Linked DNA regions of Homo sapiens: all the other regions are linked to region 1. Evidence: promoter capture Hi-C in human tissues and cell types (Jung and others, 2019). All regions are on one chromosome and are shown on one strand. The core of a region is centred on a gene start or on the middle of the fragment in contact, and the rest is flanking DNA. Distances in the headings are between cores, read along the strand shown. Region 1 holds the start of DENND1C (DENN domain containing 1C). Region 2 has its middle 1.6 kb from the start of RFX2. Region 3 overlaps VAV1 (vav guanine nucleotide exchange factor 1). Region 4 holds the start of SH2D3A (SH2 domain containing 3A). Region 5 overlaps RFX2 (regulatory factor X2). Region 6 overlaps RFX2 (regulatory factor X2).

Region 1 (3,624 bases), core at 729-3,228:
CCTGGGAGACTGGCCCTCGCCCTGGGGGAGCAAGGAGCCAGCCTGAATACCTGGTCCCTGAAGTCTGGAGGGAACTGCCGCAGGATGGGGGGATCTGTAGAAGAGAGCACGCCTCTAAGTTCAGCGACCCAGGCCCACCCTCCCCTCCCACTCCCTCACTCCCAGGCTCCCAACTCACCCTCCTGCAGGGAGGCAGGGCAGGCCGCTTCGAAGAACCAATCAAACACAGCAGGGGAGCCCCCTCTGTGGGATGCAGAAGGGGTCCAGAGACTTGCTTCTATGCATGTGTGGTTGTGTCTGCCACTTTGCACACAAGTGTGGTTGTGTGTGCATGTGCCACAAGGTGCGTCGGCATGTGCATGACTCTGGGGGTTTGTGGCTGTGAGTGTGTGGTTGTGTGAGGCTGTGTGTGCAGCAGTGTTAATTGAACACACAAGTACAGGATGGAGTGAGAAAGTGTGACTGTGTGTGTGTGGCTGTGTATGATTGTGTGTGGCTGAGTGCATGGCTTTTGTGAGCAGGCAGTGTGTGTGTGATCCTGTCTGCTGTCTGCCTGAAAAGATGAGACTGTCTCCTATATCTGTGGCATGAGACTGCACAGATATGAAGGACAGCCCGTGCAGTCCCAAGCTAAGTGAATTACATCTCTCTCTCTCTATATATATATCCATCTATCTGTCTGTCTGTCTGTCTCTGTCTATCCATCCATCCATCCATCCACCCACCCACCCACCTATCCATCCACCCACCCACCTATCTATCTATCTATCTATCTATCTATCTATCTATCTATCTATCTATCTATCTATTTTTTTGAGATGGAGTTTTGCTTTGTCACCCAGGCTGGAGTACAGTGGCACGATCTTGGCTCACTGCAACCTCCACCCCACAGGTTCAAGCGATTCTCCTGCCTCAGCCTCCCTGTAGCTGGGATTACAGGTGCCCGCCACCACGCCCAGCTAATTTTCATATTTTTAGTAGAGACAGGGTTTCACATACTGGCCAGGCTGTTCTCAAACTCCTGACCTCAGGTGATCTGCCCGCCTCAGCCTCCCAAATTGCTGGGATTACAGGCTTGAGTCACTGCATCTAGCCATGCCATCTATATTTTCTTGTATAGATGTGAGTGTGTGTGCCCGAGCAAGTGAATGACATCTATATTTTCCTGTACAGCTGTGAGTGTCACTGGGTAACCGCGTGGGATCCTTGTGGGCTGGCTGTGTGTCTCTGTGTGTGAGACCCCATAGAACCCTCGTGGCTGGTCCCACATGTCTCATCAGAGAAAGGAGGGCAGGATACCTAGGTACTTACTGTAAGCCCTGCAATCTCTGCTTTCCTCCTCTGCCCCCATATCAAGCAGAAGAGGCAGCCTTGGGCTCAAGGAGAGAGACAGGGAGATCTAGAGGGAGATCAGCTGCACACACACTGTCCCGCCCAGTTGCACACACAGTCCCCACCATGGGTACCCCAGCACTTCACCCTCACGCCGACACAAGTCACACACGATCACCCACTCATACCAACACCCAGCCTCCCCTCTGCCCTGATCATCCGCCCTGTGGACCCCCTGAAGCCATCACTCAGACATACCAAGGACAAAGCTCAGAGGGGTACATGCATTCACAGAGCTATAGACATAATCACAGGAGCTGGATAGAGAGAGAGAGAGAGAGAGAGAGGAGGGGACCGAGAGTGGCCTGTCCCAGAGTGAAGGTCATAGCGGAGGCCCATGGAGTATCTGATTCCAGCCACCTGCCCTGGCAGGTCACTGCACCTCCCGGGCCTGCTCCAGCCCCAGCTCCCCTCTGCCCCGGCTCAGGCCTGGCCCGGGAATCTTGTACCAGAGAATGAGGGATGGGGTGGCTCTTACTCAGCTCTGGATTCCATGGTCCCTGCAGGGCCAGCCCAGCGGGGCCCTCTCCCCAGGGGTCCTGGGGGCCTGTGTATGCTGGGCCCCAAGCCGGCTCAGCTTCCTGTGTGGCTGAGAGAGGAAGTTTAACGGGTGACGTCCCCGGACAGAGGCCCTGCCCCCACCCCCGTGAGAAACCCAGGCATCCTGCCTGCTAATTATGTTGGGGATGGGTGGGCAATAAGTGGTCAGCCTGGGAAGGCAGACCCCCAGCTCCGTCCCCGCCAGGCTGGACTGTGTCTGGTTCCCCCCATCGTGCCTGGGCCCTCATCTCTCCTTCCCCGCTCCGCAGCAGCCAAGATTCACAGTCTGTCTATTAATGAAATGCCTCCCCGTCTCTTTCCCTTGGTCCATTTGGCCTGGACGGTCACTGGTGGACCACCAGAGGGAGCCACCTGTAAAGTGGACGGTGGGGGGGCCAGGGATGGGGACAAAGAGCACGAAGTACAGGCACAGGGACGGACAGACAGACACAGACACAGACAGTTACACGCTCAGGAAGTCATCAGCACAGACAAACCGAGTGCAGAAGAGCCAGAGACGACAGACATGGAGAGATAGGGAGTCCTACAGCTGGATCATAGTCCCAGGCCGGGCACAGTGGCTCACGCCTATAATCCCAGCACTTTGAGAGGCCAAGGTGGGAGGACCGCTTGAGCCCAGGAGTTCGAGACCAGCCTGGGAAACATGGCGAAACCCTGTGTCTATAAAAGCTACAAAAATTATAGCTGGCGGTGGTGGCACGCACCTATAGTCCCAGCTTACCCAGGAGGCTGAGTCAGGAGGATCGCCTGAGCCTGGGGAGTTTGAGGCCATAGTGAACCAAGATTGCACTACTGTACTCCAGCCTGAGCAACAAAGTGAGATCCTGTCTCAAAAAAAAAAAAAAACAACTTAGTCACAGTTACACACCCATTGTGCGCAGAAAGACAAGGTAAGCGGATCACTTGAGGTCAGGAGTTTGCAACCAGCCTGGCCAACATGGTGAAACCCTGTCTCTAATTAAAAAAAAATACAGGCCAGGTGCGGTGGCTCACATCTGTAATCCCAGCACTTTGGGAGGCTGAGGCAGGTGGATCACGAGGTCAGGAGTTCGAGACCAGCCTGGCCAAGATGGTGAAACCCAGTCTCTACTAAAAATACAAAGATTAGCCAGGCACGGTGGTGGGCATCTGTAATCCCAGTTACTCAGGAGGCTGAGGCAGAATTATTTGAACCTGGGAGGCGGAGTTTGCAGTGAGCCGATATCGCGCCGCTGTACTCTAGCCTGGGCGACAGAGCAGGACTCTGTCTCAAAAAATCAAAAACAAACAAACAAACAAAAAATTAGCTGGGCATGGTGGCATGTGCCTGTAATCCCAGCTGCTTGGGAGGCTGAAGCAGGAGAATCACTTGAATCCGGGAGGCAGAGGTTGCAGTGAGCCGAGATCGTGCCACTGCACTCCAGCCTGGGTGAAAGAGTGAGACTCCATCTCAAAAACAAAAACAAAAACAAAGCAAACAAACAAACAAACAAATGCAGAGACAGACAGAGACACAATAAACAGTTACACAGAGACCACAGCCATTGATACAAACAGAATAACAGAGAAATAGACCCAGATAGATGGAAACACAGCACAGACATAGCTCAAGTAATAACCAGATATAGTTATAGCCAAGACCCGGCCACATGCAGAGAGAGACACAGCTGGACTCACATGACAGCCAGATAC
Region 2 (2,700 bases), core at 79-2,578, 370 kb before region 1:
GCCAATGGCCGCGAAGAGGGGCGGGTCTTGGCGGGAGGCGCGCGCGGCTCAGAGGGTTGGCGAACCGGTCGCGCGCGCGGCGCCGTGGGTTGGTGGCGCGTTTTGGGAAAGTCCAGTTTTAGGGGACCCAAGGGACTCCGTTTACCCCACAGGAGGAGTGTGGGACATGTGGGAACAGTCTGATCAGGGGTCAGCAAACTCTCGCTCGCCGCCTGTTTTTCACGGACCCCCAGCTGAAAATTTAAATATATATATATTTTTTACATGGTTAAAAGAAACTATCGGCCGGGCGCGGTGGCTCACGCCTGTAATCCCAGCACTTTGGGAGGCTAAGGCGGGTGGATCACGGAGTCAGGAGATCGAGACCATCCTGACTAACACGGTGAAACCCCGTCTCTACTAAAAATACAAAAAATTAGCCGGGCGTGGTGGCAGGCGCCTGTAGTCCCAGCTACTTGGGAGGCTGAGGCAGGAGAATGGTGCGAACCTGGGAGGCGGAGCTTGCAGTGAGCCGAGATCGCACCACTGCACTCCAGCCTGGGCGACAGAGCGAGACTCCGTCTCAAAAAAAAAAAAAAGAAAGAAAGAAAAAAAAAGAAACTATCAAAAGGAGCTTTTGTGGGGTGTGAACCTGATAGGAGACTCTCTTTTATTGTATTGGGCCCAGTATTTTGAACTAGTTTAAAGATTGGCAAACTGCGGCCTGCGGGTCAAATTCTGCCTGCTTGGGTTTGTAAATAAAGCTTTATTGGAACATAGCCACGCCCATTTCCTTGAACAGCTTGGAAGGCTGCTTTGACACTACAGGGGCGGAGTGGAGTAGTTGCGCAAAGACGGCATGTCCCACGCGAAGCCTAAGATATTTACTATACGGTCCTTTACAGAAAATGTTTGCCAAACTCACCAGCCCTCCTCTCAAGCTGGTAGATTCAGCTACGAGTAGGACAGAAACAGACAGATCCTCATAGAACTTTTATTCTAGTGAGGGAACATTGACAGCAAACAGAATAAAGAGGTAAACATATAGTTATTCGAGACAAGGGGCTGGAAGAATAGGAGAAAACAACTTGTACTGAGAAAAGGCAGGAGATTAGGCTTCAGCCCCACTCATTCATTCAACAAGAAATCATATTAGTGAGCACTGATTAAATTGCTATGTGCCTGAAAGTGATCTAAGCATTTTTTAAATATGCAAACTCATTAAATCTTACAATCGCATCTTTAGAAAGATGCTAGGCATTATCCCCGTTTTTATTTGTTTTGTTTTTTCTTTTTTTTTTTTTGAGACAGAGTCTCTCTCTGTCACCCAGACTGGAGTGCAGTGGTGCGATCTGGCTCGCTCACTGCAACCTCTGTCTCCCGGGTTCAAGTGATTCTCCTGCCTCAGCCTCTCAAGTAGCTGGGACTACAGGCGCCCGCCACCACGCTCAGCTAATTTTTGTATTTTTAGTAGAGACGGGGTTTCACCATGTTGGCCAGGCTGGCCTGGAACTCCTGACCTCAAGTGATCCGCCCGCCTTGGACTCTCAAAGTGCTAGGATTACAGGCATGAGCCACCATGCCCGGCCTTTCCCCATTTTTCAGATCAGGAAGCTGAGGCCCAGAAAGAATGAGTGAATTTGCCCAGTGTCAAACAGCTTGTGAGGGATCGGAACCCTAGTAGTCTAGTGCCAAAGTCCATGCTCTTGATCACTAGATGGGTGGTTTTCAAACATTTTTGACCACAGCATACAGCAGGAAATACATTTTACCTAGGGGCTCAGTCCACACAAACATATCTATAACTAAAACAAATGATACTGTAACTAAAGTACCGTGAAATGATACTTTAACGCACTCTGATATTTCCTGTTCTGTTTCATTTTAATTAAAATGTTGACGGTGATTTGCTAAATTGATTTCATCATCTTCTAATTTTTTTTTTTTTCTTGAGACAGAGTCTCTGTCGCCCAGGCTGGAGTGCAGTGGCATGATCTCGGCTCACTGCAACCTCCGCCTCCCGAGTTCAAGTGATTCTCCTGTTTCAGTCTCCCGAGTAGCTGGCGTTACAGGCACGCGCCACCACGCCTGGCTAATTTTTGTATTTTTAGTAGAGACGGGGTTTCACCGTGTTGGCCAGGCTGGTCTCAAACTCCTGATCTCAAGTGATCCACCCGCCTCAGCCTCCCAAAGTCCTGGGATTACAGGCAGGAGCCACTGCGCCTGGCCATGTGACAGATTCTTAAGCTCAAGTGGTCTACAGTAATCAGTCCCTTTCATTCAATTATTAATTTAGTCAAAAATATTTATTGAGGTCCAAGTGCAGTGACTCAGCAGGAGGATCGTCTGAGGCCAGGGGTTCAAGACCAGCCTGGGCAACATAGTGAGACCTTATCTCTATAAAAATAAAATAAATTAGCCAGGCGCAGTGGTGCACACCTATAGTCCCAGCTGCTCAGGAGGCTGAGGTGGGAGGATCGCTTGAGCCCAGGAGTTCTAGGCTGTGGTGAGCTATGACTGTGCCTCTGAACTCCAGCTTGGTAGACAGAGCAAGAACCTGTCTCTAATATATATATATATACATTTATATATATACACACACATATATACACACACATATATGTGTGTATATATATAGTATATGATGATAGATAGATAGGTAGATAGATAGATAGATAGATAGATAGATAGATAGCGCCTACTATTTGCTAGGTGCTAGGG
Region 3 (3,786 bases), core at 1,276-3,775, 370 kb after region 1:
GGGCTTGGTGGGGAATGGGCCTGGTCCCCAGACTCAGGGCCCGGTGACCATCTGGTTCCAGATATAACGTCGAGGTCAAGCACATTAAAATCATGACAGCAGAAGGACTGTACCGGATCACAGAGAAAAAGGCTTTCCGGGGGCTTACGGTAAGGGTCAATGTCCGCTCAATCCCAGCTTTCCAGAACCTAGGAGGACCCTCCCTGCACCTCCGCCTTGGGACCCCCTTTTCCCACATTCAGGGTGACCCCCCTCCAGTGGCACTACAGTGCAAGTGACCTTAAACTTATGCTCTTAATGATGAACAATGGGAATAATAATGAATAACAGCAGTTGAATATTGACAGAGCACTTAAGTGTAAGATATGTTCATTTTTAAATTTTATTTATACATATATTCAAGCATTATGTATATATGTATGTGTGTATATATGCATATATACATACATATGTATGTATGTGTATTTAAATTTTACTTACGTATATATACATATGTATACATATGTATGTAGGGTACATGTATATACGTGTATCTGTTTATTTTTATATATATAGATAGATAGAGAGAGAGAGATTGAGAGAGAGAAAGAGAGTCTTGCTCTGTTGCCCAGGCTGGAGTGCAGTGGTGCAATCATAGTACACTGCAGCCTCAAATTCCTGGTTTAAATAATCTCTCGCCTCAGCCTCCCGAGCAGCTGGTACTATAGGCATGCACCATCATGCCTGGCTAATTTTAAAAAAAAATTTTTTTTTTGTAGAGATGGGGACTTGCTTTGTTGCTCAGGCTGGCCTTGAACTCCTGGGCTCAAATAATCCTTCTGTCTTGGCCTCCCAAAGTGTTGGGATTACAGGTGTGAGCTACTGCATTCAGCCCTCAAATATGTTATAGATAGAAACCTAATTAATCCCCTCAACCTTCTTTCTGAGTTCCCATTTCACAGATGGGTAAAACTGAGGTTTACTCCTCGTCTAGCTTCACTGAATGGCAGAGCCCATAGCTTGTCTTTGCCTAATCTGCTGCATAATCATTTCAGCAACAACTCAAATGCCTTTTGAGGGTTCTTGCTTCTGTTTGGTGCCTTGTAATTTTCAACCATATTTTAGACACTTTAGGCCTAATGATCTAAGGCATATGGTTTTTACCCATGGTCTGTGGGCCCTTGAGAAGCTGAGTCCTCTGAAAGAAAATCAGAATGTTGCATGCATCTGTATTTTTTGTCTTAGATTTCACTTGATTCTCAAATGGATCCTTGACTCCCCCAAAGTTTAATTTATTCAACAAATCTTTTTTTTCCTCCATACTTTTTATTCTGAAACATATTCCCCCAATTTTTAACTTCTGAAAAATTTCAGACAAGTTATTGGAATAGGGTAGTGAGTATCTATGAACCTTTCATATAGGTTTACTTTAAAAAAAATACAAGAGACAGGGTCTTGCTCTGTGGCCCAGGCTAGAGTGCAATGTTGTGATCATAGCTCACTGTGGCTTCAAACCCCTGGGCTCAGGCGATCCTCCCTCCTCAGCCTCCTGAATAGCTGAGACTACAGGCATGCACTGTCATGCCTGGCTAATTGTTTAAATCTTTTTTAGAGATGGGATCTTGCTATGTTGCCCAGGCTGGTCTTGAACTCTTGGCTTCAAGTGAACTTCCCACCTTGACTTCCCAAGGTGCTGAGATTCCAGGCATGAGCCACTACATCTGGCCTGATGATGATTGCTAATTGTAAATTAAGGCATGTGGCCCCATAGAAGGTTTTGAATTTGGTGAGCTAATTATCTGGTAAATTTATCACGAAGTAAGTTAGTCCACTATTGAAAGAACCTGTTTTTGGCCGGGCACGGTGGCTCACGCCTGTAATCCCAGCACTTTGGGAGGCCGAGGCAGGCGGATCACGAGGTCAGGAGATCGAGACCATCCTGGCTAACACGGTGAAACCCCGTCTCTACTAAAAATATAAAAAATTAGCTGGGCGTAGTGGCGGGCGCCTGTAGTCCCAGCTACTCGGGAGGCTGAGGCAGGAGAATGGCATGAACCCTGGAGGCGGAGCTTGCAGTGAGCCGAGATTGCGCCACTGCACTCCAGCCTGGGCGACAGAGCCAGACTCCGTCTCAAAGAAAAAAAAAAAAGAAAGAAAGAACCTGTTTTAGGCAGTGTGGTCCCTTCCCCATAAATAGTCCTGGCTGCTCAGGGAGGTGATGAACTCCCCATCATGGGGAGTATTCAAGGGGTCACTTTCCAAAGAGGCCAGAAACAGGGCCTGCTTCATGTGAGGAGTTGCATATGGCTGTTCCTAGCTCTGCCCCCTTATGGGCTGGCCCGCTGGGATAGCATCTGCCATGTGGTCCGCCTTCTAGGAGCTGGTGGAGTTTTACCAGCAGAACTCTCTAAAGGATTGCTTCAAGTCTCTGGACACCACCTTGCAGTTCCCCTTCAAGGAGCCTGAAAAGAGAACCATCAGCAGGCCAGCAGGTAGGAGGTCTCAGACTGGGGGCTTACAGCCTCAGCCCCTTCCCATTGTGGAGGGAAACTTTGGGGATGCCATTGACACCCCTTCCAATGGCCTTGCAGAGGTCATATCTGTGCAGTAGCAGGAACCCCTTTCCACTCCTGTCTATCCCTTCCTATATATATTTTAATATAATATAATTTAATTAATTAATTTATTTATTTTTTGAGACAGAGTCTCACTCTGTTGCCTAAGCTGGAGTGCAGTGGTGCGATCTTAGCTCCCTGCAACCTTTGCCTCCCACCTCTTGGGTTCGAGGGATTCTCATGCCTCAGCCTCAAAATAAAAAAATAAAAATAAAAATTCCAAACCAGTCTTATTTTCTGGCTGGGTGCGGTGGCTCATGCCTGTAACTCCAGCACTTCGGGAGGCCAAGGTGGGTGGATCACTTGAGGTTAGGAGTTCAAGACCAGCCTGGCCAACATGGTGAAACTCCATCTCTACTAAAAAAAAAAAACATAAAAATCAGCCGGGCATGGTGGCACAGGCCTGTAATCCCCGTGATTCAGGAGGCTGAGGCAGGAGAATCACTTGAACCCAGGAGGCATAGGTTGCAGTGAGCTGAGATTGTGCCACCGCACTCCAGTCTGGGTGACAGAGAGAGACTTTATCTCAAAAAAAAAAAAAAGTGTTATTTTCTAAATTCAGACGGGAGGATGATGCTGGGAGTACAATTGTGTCCCCTTACAGTACAGGGCATCTAATACTCTGCAGAAAAGAGCACTGAGGAGCCCTTTATCCTGGAGTTACTGTCCTGAGAGCTTGTGCCCCCAGAGAGTGAGTGGGTATCTGCCCCAGACCCTTTTCTCACTTCTGTTCTCTCTCCACAGTGGGAAGCACAAAGTATTTTGGCACAGCCAAAGCCCGCTATGACTTCTGCGCCCGAGACCGATCAGAGCTGTCGCTCAAGGAGGGTGACATCATCAAGATCCTTAACAAGAAGGGACAGCAAGGCTGGTGGCGAGGGGAGATCTATGGCCGGGTGAGGCAGGCAGGGCTGGGTGACGGGGAGGGCATGGGGGTTGAGCTGGTGGTGGACGAGACTGGAACTGGGGACTGGAGAAGGTGAGGTGCGGCTCCCATGGAGATCTCTCACGGTGGGAGGGAAGGAAGGGACACAGGGATGTCATTTATGCATTTATGCAACCTACCTGCATGTATTCAGCACCTGCTGTGTGCAGACATTGTGCTGGGTGTCGAGGAGACAGAAACAAGCACGGTACAAGGATTGCCCTCATGAAACTTATAATCGAATGTGGAGGACAGACCTATAACCAA
Region 4 (3,656 bases), core at 28-2,527, 290 kb after region 1:
CCAGTGCCGCATACCTGAAGCCAGGTGTGTCTTTGCAATGCCTGCGCACTTCCTGTTTGTCACCTGGACCAGGGCTAGCCTCGGTCGCAGAGTTTCCCAACCCCAAGTTCCTGTCTTGTGTCTCCCTTAGTGAGAGTGAAGTTGAGTCAATGGCAAGGTTCTGGTTAGTTTGAGGACACAGGGTGGCCATAGGTCAGCCAAAGGCCAACTAAGCCATCTCCTGCCTCTGAGTCCTTTGGGATCATTTATTCGGGCACGGAAGAGAAGAAACGGGCAGAATCAGGAATCAGACCAAGCATAGAGAGAGGAGAGAGGGGATTATTCATGTTCCAGTTGGATCATAAACATGTGTCCACGTGTGGGGAGGACGTGGAGGGTGGGAACCACCAGCACAGGCAACACAAACACAGATGTAGGCAGGACTCGCTTTTGACGTTGGACGACCATTGCTGGAGCACTTGCTGTGCACCAGGCTCTGTTCTAGGACCTAGAGATACAGTGACTAAGGAGATTAAAGCTCGGCACCACCCTGCCCTCCAGAGCTTGCAGTCGGCTGCGCAAGACAGACTGCAAACGAGCACAAGATGAATGGAGAAGACAGACCATTTCTAAGAGTTATCAATGAAAGTGATAAGCCAGGGAGATGTGATAGAGGAGGCTGGACAGGACAGCCTCTCCTATAAAGTGACATTGGAACTGAGACCTCAGTACAGAAGGAGGCAGTTAGGCAAAGATTTGGAGGAGTCGCCTGGGTGAGGGGTACAGTAAGGGTAAAGGCCTGGAGCTGAGATGGACTTGCTTTTTACATTTTACATCATCAAGGCGGCTGGTGTAGCCGGAATACGATGAGGAAGGAGTAGATAGGAGGGCAATGAGGTTGGAGAGATCAGGAGGAGAGACTAGGCAAAAACTAGTGGACTTTGAATTTTAATCTCTATGACCCAAGGGTTTTAAGTGAAGGAGGGGCCCGATCTGATTCGCCGTTTAAGAGGATCACTCAGGCAAAAATGGAAACAATGGCTTTCTGTGCTGCACAGGAAATACACTTAGAGAGGCACGCCCAGGTGAGCCCGAGCACACCGACACGCGTAACGCACAGCGACCCTCTCATTCGCGAGGCGACCTCTTCTACCCCAGATCCTCCCTGCGAGCCGGTGACCCCACCTGGAAAGAGAGGACTCCCCATCCCAATAATCCTGGTTCTGGATCTGCCCTGGGGCTCCACTCACCTGGGCAGGACCCGCGGGGCTCCCACGAGGCTGGGTCCAGGCGGAAGCTGAGGCTCCGCGGCTCCGGGCTGCTGTCACCCCCGCCCTCCACCTTGCCACCGCCCCAGCCTTCCCAGACCACACCTAGTGGGAACTCAGCCCAGTTACCTGACCACACCTCCTGCAGACCCCGCCCCCTGCGGGCCCCGCCTCAAACTAACTTCCCAGGCCCTTGCTCCGCCCCCTTAAAACCATTTTTTTTGCTACTAGCCACGCCTCCTTCTGCATCGCACCGCTTTCTCCATAGACCCCGCCCACTAGGGGAGCACCACGCATCCTTTCCTGCCAGTGGCCCCTCCCCTTGTATATAGCCACGACCACCGCCGAATGACTACGCCCACCCGCAGCCACCTCCTTCTCAGCCCCGCCCCTTAGGGCAATAGAAGAAATTTCATCCCAACGTTCCCGCCCCTTAGAACCCTGCCCCTCCCTTCCACCCAGGCGGCCCCAAGCACCCATGGCCCTTTGGGACCAGGGCGGGGTGGAGTGGGGTGCCTCTCTCCCCTCCCCGCCAAGGCTCCGGGTCAGGGCAGGGCAACTCCCTCGGGCTCTTACGCCAGGCTGGGGTAGCTGCGGCAGCTGTGACGTAAGGAGGGGTACGCTTCCTCCAGACCGCCCTCCCGGATTTTCCGGAAAGAAGCCCCATTTAGGTGGCGGGTTTTGTGGAGAGACGTCCGGGAAAACGCGACAGCTTCCTTCAGTGACAGCACGCTGGAGCGGGGCGGGACTTTGGTGGAGGTGGAAGGCAAATCATTCAGGTGGTTTCCCAGGTGGGAAGAAGGGTGGGGGGGACTTCCATCGTGATGCCTGGAGACGAACAAGAGAAAAGGTGACAGGGACCTAGTGCAAGAGAGAGGACTCTTTGGCCACGTTTATTGATGAGTTCCTCATATTAACATCAGTCTTGTCTTGTAGAGACAGGGTCTTGCTATATTGCCCAGGCCGGAGTGCAGTGGTGATCATAGCTCACTGTAGCCTCAACCTCCTGGGCTTAAGCTATCCTCCCGCTTCAGCCTTCCAAGCAGCTGAGACTAAAGGTGCACACCACCACACCCAGCTGATTTTATTTTATTTTTTGTAGATGTGGCGTCTTACTATGCTGCCCAGGCTCTGGAACTCCTGGGCTCATGCGAACTTCCTGCCTTGGCCTCCCAGAGCGCTGAGATTACAAGCAAGCATGAACCACTGTGCTTGGCCCCAGTAACCACAGTCTTAAAAGCAGTAGCAGCAGCTAACATTTATTGAGCACTTACTGTACACAAGGGCTGTTCTGTCAACTTGCCTTTATTTTATTTTATTTTATTTTTTGAGATGGAGTTTCACTCTCGTTGCCCAGACTGGAGTGCAGTGGCAGCAGTCTCAGCTCACTGCAACCTCCACCTCCCCGGTTCAAGCGATTCTCCGGCTGTAGACTCCCGAGTAGCTGGGATTACAGGCTAATTTTTGTATTTTTAGTAGAGATGGGGTCTCGGCCAGACTGGTCTCAAACTCCTGACCTCATGTGATCCACCTGCCTCGGCCTCCCAAAGTGCTGGGGTTACAGGCATGAGGCCTCTATTTTAATTTTCAAACAGACCACCCTGTAAGGGTGGTAGGTAGTATTTTCATCACTTCCATTTTCCAGATGGAGAAACTGAGGCACAGGGCAACTAAACCATTTGCCCAAGTTAACCTGGCTTGTAAGTGGTAGAGGCGAAATTCAAACCCGGAGCTCTGGAGCTTTATCCTGTCTGCCTCCTTTTCAATCTTCGCATGCCCACTTTCTCCACGATGCTGCTTTGCGGTGAAAGTTACTCACCCACCATTTTACAGATGAGGAAATTGAGGCCTAGAGGGCCAACGATGCTTGGGGATGAAAAGTTTTGATGCCTGTAGGTTGCAAAGCAGGGAATTTCCAGACTGGGCTCCCCCGACTGGCCCTGGCAAATATGGAAGAGACTCCAGGCTCAAGAGGGGAAGAAAGTTTCTTCCTTATCCCTCACCGGTCTGGTATTGGTACAGTCAGAGGGTAGGGGCATGTTCAGGGAAGGGGTCTAGCGCCTCCTCGTGGTTATAATAATTTAAAAAGAGGGCCCAGCACTTTGGGAGGCCGAGGTGGGCAGATCACCTGAGGTCAGGAGTTCCAGACCAGCCTGACCAACATGGTGAAACCCTGTCTCCACTAAATACAAAATTAGCTGGGTGTGGTGGAATGCACCTGTAATCCCAGCTACTGGGGAGGCTGAGGAAGGAGAATCACTTGAACCTGGGAGGCGGAGGTTGCTGTGAGCAGATTAGCTGTGTGTGGTGGCATGCACCTGTAATCCCGGCTACTAGGGAGGCTGAGGAAGGAGAATCACTTGAACCTGGGAGGCAGAGGTTGCTGTGGGCAGAGATTGCACCATTGCA
Region 5 (3,378 bases), core at 81-2,580, 410 kb before region 1:
TGGAAGGTTTAGGGCACAGGGACACAATCTGACAGATATTTTGGAAGTATCAACGGTCAATGGAAGCAAACGTCAGGGCTGGACAACCAGGTCAGAGGTGACAAAGACTTACGTGATAGCAGTGCTCTCATTTGGGAGACACCTGAAGACAGAGCCAGCCAGGTTTGCTGACGGGTTTGACATAAAGGGTGAAAGAAAGAGAGGAGTCGAGGCTGACTTAAGGCTTGGGGCTGGCCTGAGCACCTAGAGAATGGAGCTGCCCGGTGCTGAGCTGGGGAAGCCCGTGGTCTGGGGAGAGACAAGTGTGAGGTCGAATCAGGCACCCAGTTTTGGGTGACAGAAGCCTCAGATGCCCATCAGATGACACCCACATGCAGCTGCCACCTAGGCAGCTAGGTACACAAGTCCAGGATTCGGGGAGTGAGCCAGGCTGCAGACACTAGGACACTGGAGGTTCTAAGATGCATTTCAACTCTTGTACCTCGGTGAGATCACCAGGAAAGCAGGTGTAGATAAAGCAGAAAAGAGGTCCCTTCTCAAGTTCAAAGGTCATGAACAGTTGGAGGATCTGGCATAGGGGACAGAGGAGAGGAAGAAAGCAGAGGGAATATCGAGCTCTGAAATACACAGCGTCACCCCTTTACTTGGCTTTCGGAGCTTGGTGTTCACAAAAAATTAGAAACGAGGTTGGGGGCGGTGGCTCATGCCTGTAATCCCAGCACATTTTGGGAGGCCAAGGTGGGCAGATCACTTGAGGTCATGAGTTCGAGAGCAGCCTGGCCAACATGGCGAAACCCCATCTCTACTAAAAAATAATACAAAAATTAGCCATGCGTGGTGGTGCATGCCTGTAATCCCAGCTACTTGGGAGGCTGAGGCAGGAGAATCGCCTGAACCCGGGAGGCTGAGGTTGCAGTGAGCCGAGATGGTGCCACTGTACTCCAGCCTGGGTGACAGAGAGAGACTCTGTCTCAAAATAAATAAATACATAAATAAGAAACAAACGTTCATCAACTGGAATACCATTAACTACCTTACGGTGCATCCTAGCTCTAAAACAGGAGGCTAGGCGAGGGTGCCTGGGTCCGGTGCCTGGGTCCAGTTCCTGGGTCCTCCAGTTTCTAGCTGGGTGACCTCAGCCAGGGACTTAAATCTTTCTGCACTTCCATTTCTTTGTCCATAAACGGAGAAAATACTTCTATCTGTGTTGGGTGGTTGTGTTAAATGAGAGGAGTCCTACAAAGTGTGGAGTTTAATGGCCAGCCCAGCACACGGAAAATGCCCATAAATGTTCATTAGCGTCATCGTTGTAATTCACACCATTATAACGTAACCCACATAATTTACTGATTTTTTGCAGATTTAAATATCTGAAACTAAAAGCAGTTATGCTGTTTGCTATTTGTGATTTCAAAAACTCTTCGCTATTTGTGATGTTGCTAAGCCCTTTAGGGAGTGCCTCCTGCTATGAGCTATATTCATTCCAGGGCATATTTGTGGGGTTTGTCATTTTAACCAAGTACTTAATACTTGTTTCTCTCCCAGCATCTTGCCAAATGTGGCAGCTCTCCTTCTAGATGAACACTACTGCATTACTGTTATAGAAATGATATTTTAACATCAACTCCCTTTTCCCTTTTCTTCCCTAGAAATCCAGTCCTTCCATGAGACCTCGGTACACACAGAACTCCTCCTACCACGTGCAACCTTATTCTCGGCTGAGCAACTCATAAATCGCATAACAAAAACAGTGATTGATGCGGACTGTGTTTAGTGCCATCCTTGCCGGTGAGAGGGAGTGAGCCAGCAAGCTTCCTTAAATCTCTTTAGTTCTCCAAAAGGAGAGGCCATTTGCCTTCTCATCTATGCCGCAAGTTTCTGGGGCTTGCATCATTAACCTGGTGGCTTTGCCAATTCCTTCGCCAGTGCTGGGTCAAAGACAGGCAAGGGCACCAGGGTTAGCCATGAGTGTGTGCCAGGGGCTGAATGCAAAACCCGGGAGCACTGGTGGCTGGGGCAGGTGGGCTGGGCTCTGCCACTGCCTCCCCCAGCCCACCCAAGAGGGGCGTGTGCCTCTGCAGGAAATGGCCTCCAAGCATTTCTCAAGACTTACGAGATGTTCAAACCTACACAGTCAGAGACAAAGAGCTAGCTATAAGTGGGGTCTTTTTCCCCTCCTCAAAATTCATCCTGCAGAAGTAGACATGTGCTAAACAGTGCATGGCCACACAAATGCTTGGATACCAATGTTCACAGCAGCGTTGTCCTAATGGCCCCAAAGTAGCAACAGCCCAAATGTTTGTCAACTGATGGATGGATAAACGAAGGCGGCCGGGCGCGGTGGCTCACACCTGTAATCCCAGCACTTTGGGAGGCTGAGGCGGGTGGATCACCTGAGGTCAGGAGTTTGAGACCAGCCTGACCAACATGGAGAAACCCTGTCTCTATTAAAATACAAAATTAGCCGGGCGTGGTGGCACATGCCTGTAATCCCAGCTACTTGGGAGGCTGAGGCAGGAGAATCGCTTGAACCCGGGAGGCGGAGGTTGCAGTGAGCCAAGATCGCGCCATTGCACTCCAGCCTGGGCAACAAGAGCAAAATTCCATCTCAAAAAAAAAAAAAAAAAAAAGGAACGAGGCACTGGCACATGCTGTAAACGGATGGACAGTGGACCCTGAAAACATTATGTTACGTGGAAGAAGCCAGTCACAAAAGGCCACATAGTGTGTGATTCTGTTTATATGAAAGGTTCAAAACAGGCAAATCCACAGAGACAGAAAGTGGATTCACAGTTGCCCGGGGCTGGGAGGAGGAAGGGCAAGTGGCTGTTCATGGCAGGTTCAGGGTTTCTTCTTCTTTTCGGAGTGATGAAAATGTTCTGTGAAGATAGTATACTAAGACCCACTGAACCATACACTTCAAATGGGTGAGCTTTACGGTATGTAAAACAGATCTCAGCACAGCTGTAAAAAAAAAAAAAAAAAAGGTATATTGACGACCTGTCCCCAGTGGCATTAGTTTAAGTCATAAAAATTTAGAAACAAATGTTCATCAACAGGAAAATCATTAAGTACCTTATGGTGCATCCTAGCTCTAAAACTATGCTGCCATTAAAAAGAAGAGGTACCGTCTCCAAGAAAGAAAGCCAACATCTGCAGTGCCTGGCACACAGTAGGCTCTCAAATATTTGCAGAATAAATTTATGTTGAAAAAACCCCAGCTATACATACTATAAAATAGGTAAAGGGGCCTTAAAAAGATCTAGAAGGACACAAGTTATATGACTAACAGTGCTTACCTCATATGAGGTGGGATAGACAGAAAGACGAAAAGAGAAATTTTCATTTCTGAATCTCCTGCTGTAGATGGTGGTCCTT
Region 6 (3,418 bases), core at 106-2,605, 440 kb before region 1:
TGGCGTGCAGGCTGCAGTGCACAGGGGGCTGAGCAGATTAGACTCTACATGGCCCCAACACCCCCCGTGGGTGGCCCTGGTGCCCCTTCCCTGGCAGAGAGGAGGGGAGAGAATGTGATGGTCTGAACAGAGTGGGAAGGAGCGGCATGCCTGGAGAGATGGGGCAATGGGGGGACCCCAGCACACCCCCGCTGCCCTGCCCTCCCCTCTCTGAAACATCAGTTCAGAGCCTCGGCTGACAGGCCCCGAGGGACTCTAGTCCGAGCAGTGGAAGCCAAACGCTTTGCACATGGGACTTCAAACTCTCACCCCAGAGGGCATCTTAGTGGCTGTCTACATCCACTGAATTTTGGGGTGAGAAGATGGAGGGCCACAGAAGTGGGCTTGTTCGGGTGTCATGGTGTCATGGTGACCTTCCTCTTGTGCTTGAAGCTGCAGGATGGGGCTGACCTGCCCCTCCTTGGACCACTGAGCATGGTATGCACTTGTCCAACGCACCACCCCCAGAATCACAAGTTCCAGGGGTTAACATCTGTTGGGTGATGCCCCAGGGGTGGAAGTCAAATGTCGAATTCTGGGGTCCAAGTGAAATGCAGAAGTTACAGAAAGAGCTGGGGCAGGCCCAGCACCAGAAAAGTGGTGGAAGCTTCTGGAATCTCCTCTCCTTGGTGTCTCTGGGGAGTGCCTTGACAGACAGCAGCTAAGACAGAGCCACTGGCCTGAGGCCCTGCGTCCCCGCTGGGCCTGTCTGGAGCCTTTTCCTTCCTGTGATCCTGCAAACCTTCCTAGTTCTCATGGACACAGTCACCTGACAAATGCCTGTGAACAGACTGCCAATCTAGGCAGGACCCTCCTGAAGAGCGGTGCATTCTCTAGGGCCTCAGGGCTCCTTTTAGGGAGGAGCCTGAGTTAACTTTAATTCAGGATTCTGCAGGGCACAGTTGGCAAACTCCGGCCCTGAGGGCCAAATCTGGCCCACTGCCTGTTTTTGTAAATAAAGTTTTATTGGCACACAGCCACACCCATTTGGTTGCATATCATTTATGGCTGCTTTTGCGATACAATGGCAGAATTGAGTGGTTGTTCCAGAGACTGCCTGGACCACAAACCCCCAAAAATGTATAATTTGGCCTTTTCTGGAAACAGTTTGCTAACCATGCTTCTAGAGTGTCCCCAAGCTGATGATCTGTGTTGCTACTTGGCTGGTCAGCCGTGCTTTCAAACTTTGTTCTTAGATAATTGAAATCATAAGAAGCATTTCCTCTGTTGTGCCCGCATCTGAGGGTATGGCACTCACTAGCAGATGGTTCCTCCAGTCCAGAGCCCTTTGTTTCTGTCTGCATTTCTACCTGAGCTCCACCCAGCAGGTGCGGGGTGCTCACTGGTTCCCCAAATGCTTGCTGAATTTCTGAATGAACGAAAGATCACCAGCTTTCTTGGCTTTCTGCAAAACTATCTGCAGTAAATGATTTTTTTAAAATTGCACAGCTTCTGGAAAAGTCTTTTGGCTAAGAAACTGAAGCTTACAACAAGGAACAGCAGCCACAGAAAAGGATGCATCCTTCAGAGATTGTTCTGGATTGCTGAGTGCTAACTGCGCCCCGGTTTGCACGGTGCTGCGGTGCTTGTCATTACCTGCTGGGGTACCTGCTGAACTCTGGGGAGGGAGATCGGCTGCATCTGGGCCCCTTTGGGATTGGAGCTGGCTGCCTGGACCAACACCCTCTAAAAGGGAAGGGAGAGAAGGCCAGTTAGACTTGTCAGAGGTCAGTGCTGAGGATACACACAGAATGTAAGATGCTGTTTGTCTGTTCATGTGCTTTTTATTAAAACATAGGCAGGACTGATCAGAGGCGACGGCGGGGTGATGGTCAGACTTGCACACTCACACCGACCTGGGCAGACACACGGCAGGTACGTGCAGGCACACAAACAATGCACATACATACACAAGTGTGCACATACACTCAGCCCATGCACCACACATATGCACGAATTGTGGGCACACACACACGTATGCACACACACATACACGGAAGCACATGCACCTTCACCCGCCCAGGCAGCTTTGCCTCTGTGGGTCTGTAGTCTGCAGCAAGGTGACACTGATCGTCCCTAGTACAGAGGGGACTGCTGGGGCCCTCTGGATAGCCATCCGCACCACTGCGTGGGAGAGCACTCTGTGGCGCCCCTCGCTTCTGCAGTATAACCCGGACTTGTTTCCATTTTCTGATGAGGTTAATGAAGCCAGAGGGCTCAAGTGCTGCCTCTGGCTACAGAATACTCGAGTCCAGGTGCCCTGTGTCTGGGTCCCTCGCTCTCTGACCCCACTGCTCTCCAGCCTCCTAAGTCAAATCTGCACAGTGTGGCTTTGCTATTTTTCTGGGAGTACCGATTGGCCACACAAAGCTATCAAAATGGGAAGGGTCAAAGTGAACTCGAGTCGAGGGAGGAACAGGAGTGTTTTGTGTGTTTATTGAGAGCTGGGGCTTTCGGAGTCATTGGCTGCAGTGCTGTGATTTCCCGGCATGAACCCTGAATGTCACAGGTAGCAGTGACTGCCATATATACATCACGAGGGGTGATGGGTGAGGACACGCCATCCCCTGTGTTGCAGGAGTGGAGCTAAGGATGAAGATGGTGCTAATAAGGATGCCAGCGCAAGGGCATTCTGATTCCAGGTGAGCTGGGCGCCGTGTGCTTGGAGAATTCACAGGGTCCTGGCAAGTCCTCAGAGAGGGACCACAGTGATGAAACCTGGGACACACATGGTGGCCGTGAGTGGCACTGAGACCTGTCCATGGTGGCTGCTGCAGAGGAAGGCAGAGTCCACCTAGGCCTGGGAGAGCCTGAGAGAGGGGCTTGGCAGGAAGACCTGAGGGCTGACTCCTCTTGGACAATTTCAAGTGGGCACGGAAACATATCAATTAGGCCACAACTGCTGGCAGGGCGACGGCGTCTGATCCTCACCTCAGATGGGCTTCCAAGACGCCCTCCCCACTGCCATATGTGCAAGAAATAAAAGCTAAAGATGTCTGACCATACACACTACATCAAATAAACCGCTTCACTGTCTGCCTTTTTGTTTTTGCGGAATTGTGTTTTTTTGTTTTTGTTTTTTTGTGTTTTTTGGGACGGATTTTTGCTCTTGTCGCCCAGGCTGAAGTGCGATGGCACGATCTCGGCTCACTATAACCTCTGCCTCCTGGGTTCAAGCGATTCTCCTGCCTCAGCTTCCCGAGTAGCTGGGATTACAAGCATGTGCCACAATGCTCGGCTAATTTATTATTATTATTATTTTTTGTATTTAGTAGACACAGGGTTTCACCATGTTACTCAGACTGGTCTCAAACTCCTGACCTCAGGTGATCCACCCACCTTGGCCTCCCAAAGTGCTGGGATTACAGGCATGTGCCAC

The links. Contacts are between HindIII fragments. The study calls those that stand out against the background at their distance.
Region 2: a contact is called between a fragment that was not itself captured here and the fragment with the promoter of DENND1C in region 1, in 2 of the 25 tissues and cell types used here (heart right ventricle and lymphoblastoid cells).
Region 3: a contact is called between a fragment that was not itself captured here and the fragment with the promoter of DENND1C in region 1, in 2 of the 25 tissues and cell types used here (neural progenitor cells and spleen).
Region 4: a contact is called between the fragment with the promoter of SH2D3A here and the fragment with the promoter of DENND1C in region 1, in 9 of the 25 tissues and cell types used here (IMR-90 fibroblasts, dorsolateral prefrontal cortex, heart right ventricle and 6 more).
Region 5: a fragment that was not itself captured here is called in contact with the fragment with the promoter of DENND1C in region 1 in 3 of the 25 tissues and cell types used here (bladder, dorsolateral prefrontal cortex and lymphoblastoid cells).
Region 6: a fragment that was not itself captured here is called in contact with the fragment with the promoter of DENND1C in region 1 in 2 of the 25 tissues and cell types used here (dorsolateral prefrontal cortex and lymphoblastoid cells).

Annotation. Positions count from the first base shown.
Region 1 is chr19:6,479,809-6,483,432 of GRCh38, forward strand. It overlaps DENND1C (DENN domain containing 1C), which reads right to left and starts at 1,979. Exons shown (of 23, transcript NM_024898.4): 1 at 1,871-1,979; 2 at 179-243; 3 at 51-94. The coding sequence starts at 1,887. RefSeq lists enhancers at 74-573, 2,170-2,464. The HindIII fragment of the contact is 27,793 bases long and covers 1-3,624 here.
Region 2 is chr19:6,110,768-6,113,467 of GRCh38, forward strand. No RefSeq gene overlaps it. Among named protein-coding and RNA genes, the nearest start is that of RFX2, 1.6 kb to the left of the region's middle. RefSeq lists a silencer at 1-54. The HindIII fragment of the contact is 4,122 bases long and covers 1-2,700 here.
Region 3 is chr19:6,850,609-6,854,394 of GRCh38, forward strand. It overlaps VAV1 (vav guanine nucleotide exchange factor 1), which reads left to right. Exons shown (of 27, transcript NM_005428.4): 24 at 62-149; 25 at 2,357-2,471; 26 at 3,339-3,490. Among named protein-coding and RNA genes, the nearest start is that of ADGRE1, 35 kb to the right of the region's middle. The HindIII fragment of the contact is 9,205 bases long and covers 1-3,786 here.
Region 4 is chr19:6,766,158-6,769,813 of GRCh38, forward strand. SH2D3A (SH2 domain containing 3A) reads right to left here and starts at 1,278. Exons shown (of 10, transcript NM_005490.3): 1 at 1,230-1,278. RefSeq lists a silencer at 1,757-1,816. The HindIII fragment of the contact is 38,619 bases long and covers 1-3,656 here.
Region 5 is chr19:6,075,371-6,078,748 of GRCh38, forward strand. All of the region lies in intron 1 of RFX2 (regulatory factor X2), which reads right to left. RFX2-AS1 (RFX2 antisense RNA 1) reads left to right here. Exons shown (of 2, transcript NR_199041.1): 2 at 1,650-1,754. Among named protein-coding and RNA genes, the nearest start is that of RFX2-AS1, 14 kb to the left of the region's middle. The HindIII fragment of the contact is 7,886 bases long and covers 1-3,378 here.
Region 6 is chr19:6,042,558-6,045,975 of GRCh38, forward strand. RFX2 (regulatory factor X2) reads right to left here. Exons shown (of 18, transcript NM_000635.4): 3 at 1,636-1,725. Among named protein-coding and RNA genes, the nearest start is that of RFX2-AS1, 18 kb to the right of the region's middle. The HindIII fragment of the contact is 4,983 bases long and covers 1-3,418 here.